Regions from separate parts of the Homo sapiens genome. Here region 2 is linked to region 1. The links are contacts of gene promoters, found by promoter capture Hi-C in human tissues and cell types (Jung and others, 2019). All regions are on one chromosome and are shown on one strand. The core of a region is centred on a gene start or on the middle of the fragment in contact, and the rest is flanking DNA. Distances in the headings are between cores, read along the strand shown.

Region 1 (3,177 bases), core at 585-3,084:
ATGAACACAGAGTCATTTATTCATATTAGATGTGCAGAGGGCCTCCTGTGTGCCACACTGAGCTCATTAGGAGGGGCTGGCCCTTCACACATGAGTGTGTGAATTTCTCTATTCCAGTCCCAGTTGAGAAGTCAATTTATTTGAGAACACATGGCCATATGACTGAAGAGAAAGTGCTCATCCACACAAGGCATGTTCTGCGGATGTCACACCCTCCTGGATTGCCCTCGGTCTGTAGGAAATGGTGGAATGCATTCTAAATGCCTAAGAGTGATCATCAGAAGAGCATGATGTGGCAGAAGGGGTGCAGGTTTTGCTTTCTAAGAACTGTGTGAATTTGAGAAAGTCACTTCTTTTTTTTTTGAGATGGAGTCTTGCTCTGTTGCCCAGGCTGGAGCTCAGTGGCACAATCTTAGCTCACTTCAATCTTCATCTTTTGGGTTCAAGTGATTCTCTTGCCTCAGTCTCCCGAGTAGATGGGATTACAGTTGTGCGCCGCCATGCTTGGCTAATTTTGGTATTTGTAATAGAGACAGGGTTTCGCCATGTTGGCCAGGCTGATCTTGAACTCTCGACCTCAGGTGATCCACCACCTCGGCTTCTCAAAGTGCTGGGATTACAGGCGTGAGCCGCTGTGCCTGGCTGGAAAGTCACTTCTTATCTTTGAGCCTAAAGACAAATTTTCTTGTGTGTAAAACCGGATCATAATATCTGCATCCTGGGTGGCTGTGGGAATAAAATGAGATCAGGCAAGGATCTGCTTCCGGGCAGGTGCTCAGGAAATGACAGCTGTTATGATTTTTGAGCATAGCAGAGGACAGAGGGTCACGTTCAACAGTTGCCAGTGTGGGTGATGCAGTCTGTCCTCAGTGGGGTCCTGCCCTCAGGAGTCACTAGCTGAGATCCTTCGCCCAATGAGAAGGGCTCGGAGTGCCCCCTGTACATCGCGATTCCAGAGGCTGTAGATGATGGGGTTCAGCATGGGGGTGACTACAGTGTACATGACAGTGGCCACACGGCCCCACTCTGCCTCGCGTCGGGATGTGGCCTGGAAGTAGACTGCAATGACTGTCCCATAGAAGAGGCTCACCACAGCCAGGTGGGAGCCACAGGTGGACACAGCCCGGAGCCTCCCAGAGGCTGAGGGCAGCTGGAGCACGGCAGCTGCGATGGCCCCATAGGAGGCGAGGATGAGCAGGAAGGGAGTGACCACCACTGCGGCGCCCTCGGTGAAGATGAGCAGCTGGATGTGGTGGGTGTCAGAGCACGAGAGCCTTAAGAGAGGCTGGTGGTCACAGAAGAAGTGGGGCACTTGGTGGGAAGCACAGAAGGACAAGCGAGCCATGAGCAGGATATACAGGAGGGAGTGGACGTGGGACACCAGCCATGCCATTCCCACCAGGGCTGCGCACATGGCCCGGGACATCCTCGTGGCATAGGGGAGGGGGTGCCGGATGGCCACGTAGCAGTCATAGGCCATGGCCGCCAGAAGACAGCTATCAGTTACCCCCAGGGCAAAGAAGAAGTACATTTGGGTCAGGCAGCCAGCCAGCGAGATGGAGTGGTCATGGGCCAACAAGTTGGCCAACATCTTGGGCACAGTGACGGAGGCGAAGCAGAGGTCAGCAAAGGACAGGTGGGCCAGCAGGAAGTACATGGGTGCATGAAGGGCTGGACTGGCCTGGATGGCAGCCACAATGAGTCCATTACCCAGGAGGCTGGCCACATACAAGAGCAAGAACAGCACAAAGAGAGGCCGCTGCTGTCCAGGACTTGTTGTCAGTCCCAATAAAACGAATGAGATTCCCTCTGAAGACTCATTGGCAGCCTCCATGGCAGGCTGGTTATTCGCCTGGAACCTGAAGGGCTCCTTTCTATTGATGGGTCACCTCCCCGATGTCTAACGGAAAAGGTGAGGGGATAAATTGTTCAAGGCTTCCTGGCCATGGGAAAATATCAAGAGTTTAGAGTCAGGTAGCCCTGGCCCTAGGCACAGGTATGACTATGGGCAAGTCATTTCACCTCCCTGAACCTTCTTCCTTTCTGGGCCTTAGATTTTCTTTTCTTTTTTTTTTTTTTTTTTTGAGATGGAGTCTTGCTCTGTCGCCCAGGCTGGAGTGCAGTGGCACGATCTCAGCTCACTGCAAGCTCCACCTCCTGGGTTCACGCCATTCTCCTGCCTCAGCCTCCCGAGTAGCTGGGACTACAGGCGCCCGCCATCACGCCCGGCTAATTTTTTTTGTATTTTTTAGTAGAGACGGGGTTTCACCGTGTTAGCCAGGATGTTCTCGATCTCCTGACCTTGTGGGGCCTTAGACTTTCAACCTGCGAAATAAGAGAATTGAAGTAACTCATCTGCAAGGTCACGTCCAACTTTGATAGTTTGTGATTTAAGCAAAAATAGAACAAAAGATATTGCACAAGATGTAGATCAGGGAAGGAGGAAAATATGAAAGAAAAGATGAAACAGAGTGAGGTTCGACACAGAAAGATCTGGCCAATGGACATTTATTTTGGAAAAGAAAAAATGAAACCAAACCAAGATGGAGGAGAGAAACATAAGAAAGAAACTCTAGAAAAAAAATCTGAAGAGCACATATGTTTACATTGAAATGAATATGAACTCACAACACCTAGACACAAATAGTGGAATTTTAGAACACTGGAAATGAAGAGGAGACTCCAGTACTTCCTAAGGGCATGGGGTGCAATGAACTGATGATATCCATGTAATTAGATTGCCATCAAATGTTTCAATTCAACAGTAGATTATAGAACAGTTTAACAATATTCAAATTCTGAAAAAAAGCATTTCGAACTTGGAATTCTTCACTCAGCAAAAATACTACTCAAGTGTGAGTAAAGAATACAGATATTTTCAGACTTAAAACACAAAACAAGGCCGGGTGCAGTGGCTCGTGCCTGTAATCCCAGCACTTTGGGAGGCCAAGGTAGGAGGATCACCTGAGGTCAGGAGTTTGAGACCAGCCTGGCCAATGTGGTGAAACCCCATCTCTACTAAAAAAAAAAATACAAAAATTAGCCAGGTGTGGTGTCACGTGCCTGTAATCCCAGCTACTTGGGAGGCTGGGGCAGGAGAATATCTTGAACCCAGGAGGCAGAGGTTGCAGTGAGCCAAGATCGTGCCACTGCACTCCAGCCTGGGTGGCACAGTGA
Region 2 (3,190 bases), core at 399-2,898, 1.1 Mb after region 1:
TAAGGGAGCCTTGGCAATTATGGTGAAGACAGTTGCCCTCACCCTTGCCACACCCCCACTGCCATGCTAAGGCACGCTGGCGCCTCTATGTGTAGGCACTCTGCTAAGCCTCCCTCTTAAAACATATGTTAATCCTCACAAGTATCTTAGGAAATGGTTACACTTTTTGTCCCCATTTGACAGAGAGGGAAACTAAAACTCACTACAGAGCAAGTCACCTGCTAGAGGCCACAACGCTGGGAAGCAGCTTCACCGCGGGCAGTGCAGCTCAGGAGCCTGAACTGTTACATCAGTGTCTCTGCTTCAAGGTGGGGCTTGAGGGATCTCCAGATGGGGAATGGAGGTGAGGGGGTAACGAGTGTCCAGGCCAAGAGCAGGACACAAGGTATCACCCCTCAGAGTGCTTTATCCTGCTGGCACTCATTCAACTGTCCCCCTGCCTCCAGGCAAAGCTATACATAAGCCTGCAGTAAGTCCAGCACAATATTTTTGAGAGACCACCCCACATCCCTACTCCTCTCCACCTCCCATCCCCAGCCCACCAGCATTCCAGGGTGGGGAACTGAGCTCCTGGCAGTTGGCTGAGCTCAGCTGGCCTTGGCACCAGTTCCTGAAGTACAGTATGAGGGAGTAGGGTGGGGAAAGAGACCCTTCCCCTTGAAGATAAAGGGGAATACAGGGCTGAGCCCTCAGTCGCCAGCTTCTTCCTCCCTGTCCCAGACACCTTCTGTAGAAAAAACCCAACTCAGTTTCTCCCCTTTCCTTTTATACTCTCACAAAGCAGAATACTTCCAACACCAGATGTGGTGGGGGCGGGAGGGGTTGTCCCCACACACCAAGCAGGCGATTAGTTGGGCAGCAGACACCAGCCCAGATGTCTTCTAATTTTGTTCCATTTTGACATTATCTACCTGGAGATAGCATCAGATCCACAGGTTGAGGGCTCAGTCCCCAAGACTATCCCCCCATCCTTCAGATGCCAATTGCAAGCCCCGTGTTGGTTTACCAGTGCTTCCCACCGACTGGCTATCAACTGGGTTTCCCATAAACCCCTCTTTGGGTTTGATTAATTTGCTGCAACAGCTCACAGAACTCAGGGAAATATTTACTTCTGTTTGCCAGTTTATTATAAAGGGATACCAATGAAAAGATGCATAGGGAGAGGTATGTGGGCAGGGGCGTGGAGCTTCCATGCCCTCCCTAGGAACCCTCCAGGAACCTCCAAGCATTCAGCTATCTGAAAGCTCCCCAAGCTTTGTCCTTTTGGGTTTTTATAAAAGCTTCATTTCATAGGCATGATTGATTAAAGCACTAGCCATTGGCGACTAACTTAACCTTCAGCCTCTCTCCCTGCCCCAGGGGCTGTGGGGTGGGCTGAAAGTTCTAACCCTCTAATCCTGCCTTGGTCTTTTCTGTGACCCCTTTCTGAAGCCACCTAGGGGCTGCCAGCCATCAGTCAACTCATTAGCAAATAAGTAGACATCACTTTAAAGAATCTAAGGATTTCAGGAGTCGTGTGCCAAGAAACCAAATACTGTATATATTTCCCAGTGTCACACCTTTCCACACCTACCCTTACACACAGCCAAGGACTTGCTTCTAAAATCGCTGATCTATCTAGGTCCCATCTCTTCTTAAAATCCTTCCCAGCTACTTTCAGGATCAAGTCCATACCCTGCTGCCTTCCTGCTACCTTCCCCTCTATTCCTTGCACTCTCCAGGCCCAACACATAGCCGCCCCGTGCCCAGTGATACCCAACTACCTGGCATGCCCAAAAGCCCTTTCCCTCCCTCAAGGGAACCTTCACCTTCACCCTGTGGCCCAACCACCAACTCAGTGGAGCCTTCCTTGAGCGCTGGTAGAGTCCTCACTCCCTTCTCTGTTCACGCACAGACCCTCTAAGGTGAGGTCTGTTGACTCATCTGCATTGTCAGACAGCAGGAGCCCTTGAGGGCAGAGATTGGCGTGACTGTCCCCTACCCCCTGCCCACAGCAGAGCGTACACAGAGGAAGCACACAGGAAACAATGGCTGGAATTTGCTGCACTGGGTACCCCAGGGTCAAAGAGGCCAAATCTAAGGGTGACCCTGGGCAGTGGAGTCTCTTGGAGATAGACCTGACCATAAGCCCCCGAGCCAGGTCAGACCAGGGCCCGCCAATTGGCTCTCCCAACCTGGCTCGTTAGGGGAATATGGACACTGCCAGGCCCAATCTTTCCATGGACGCCTGACAATGGCTGTGTCGAGAATCACAGGAGATGAAGTCATCGCTCCCAGAAATAGGCTGATTAAGAAGACGTGACGACAACGCAAACAGCAAGGCTGGACACACACACACATACACACGCGCGCACACACACTCACTCACCATGTGTTTCTCCACCCTGGGAAGCCGGGCCAGGCCTGAGCTCCTCTGGGAAACAGAAATCGTGCCAGGAACCAAAGCCAGCACAAGAAGCCTGGAGGCGGCTGGTCTTTGGGAGTGGCTGGTGCCGGGGGTGCTCTCCTCAGAGACTGTCTTGCAAGGGTTCCCTGTCCTGACCCTCACTGAAGTCCCCGACCTGCCCCTGGCCCTCTCAGACCCTCATGGTTCACCCCCTCCTTGGCCTCACCCCTCAATCCCCAGGGTAAAATCCTACCCACCTTTTTGGGCCCCCTCCCATTCCTGTCCATCCTAGATTCTGGGGAGGTGGGAGTGTCTACTGGCTGAGACAGGGCTCAGAGGCCACAGACACTGGGCTAAAATCCTGGTTCTGTCCCGCTGCAGCTGTATGACATTGGGCTAGTCAATCCACCTCTTCTTTGAGTCTAGTTTCCCCATCTGTAAAATGTAGACAGCAATGTGTCCACATTATGGGGTACAATTAAATGTTTGTTTGTTCATTCACCAACTTTCTGTCAGGCCCGATTCTAGGTGCCAGAGACACATCAGGGTACAAGACATAAATGTTCTACTTGCATGTGGCGTACAGTCTAGAGTGTGGGAAAAGTACACGAAGTATGTAACAACATCAGGTGAACTCAACAGCTAGAGACAAATGCAGAGCCAGGTCCTGGCTAGAGGATGGGAGGGGGCTGTGTTTGACCGGGTGGTTGGATTCACACTTGAATGAAGTGGGGCAGCAAGCCACACAGGTATCTGAACAAAGAATGTTCCAGGAAGAGAAGAAGAGGGAACAAGGACAAAGAT

The links. Contacts are between HindIII fragments. The study calls those that stand out against the background at their distance.
Region 2: a fragment that was not itself captured here is called in contact with the fragment with the promoter of OR1K1 in region 1 in 1 of the 25 tissues and cell types used here (hippocampus).

Annotation. Positions count from the first base shown.
Region 1 is chr9:122,798,780-122,801,956 of GRCh38, reverse strand. It overlaps OR1K1 (olfactory receptor family 1 subfamily K member 1), which reads right to left and starts at 1,834. Exons shown (of 1, transcript NM_080859.1): 1 at 884-1,834. The coding sequence starts at 1,834. The coding sequence ends at 884. The HindIII fragment of the contact is 19,122 bases long and covers 1-3,177 here.
Region 2 is chr9:121,724,325-121,727,514 of GRCh38, reverse strand. The region is part of intron 3 of DAB2IP (DAB2 interacting protein); the gene reads right to left. Among named protein-coding and RNA genes, the nearest start is that of DAB2IP, 74 kb to the right of the region's middle. The HindIII fragment of the contact is 4,977 bases long and covers 1-3,190 here.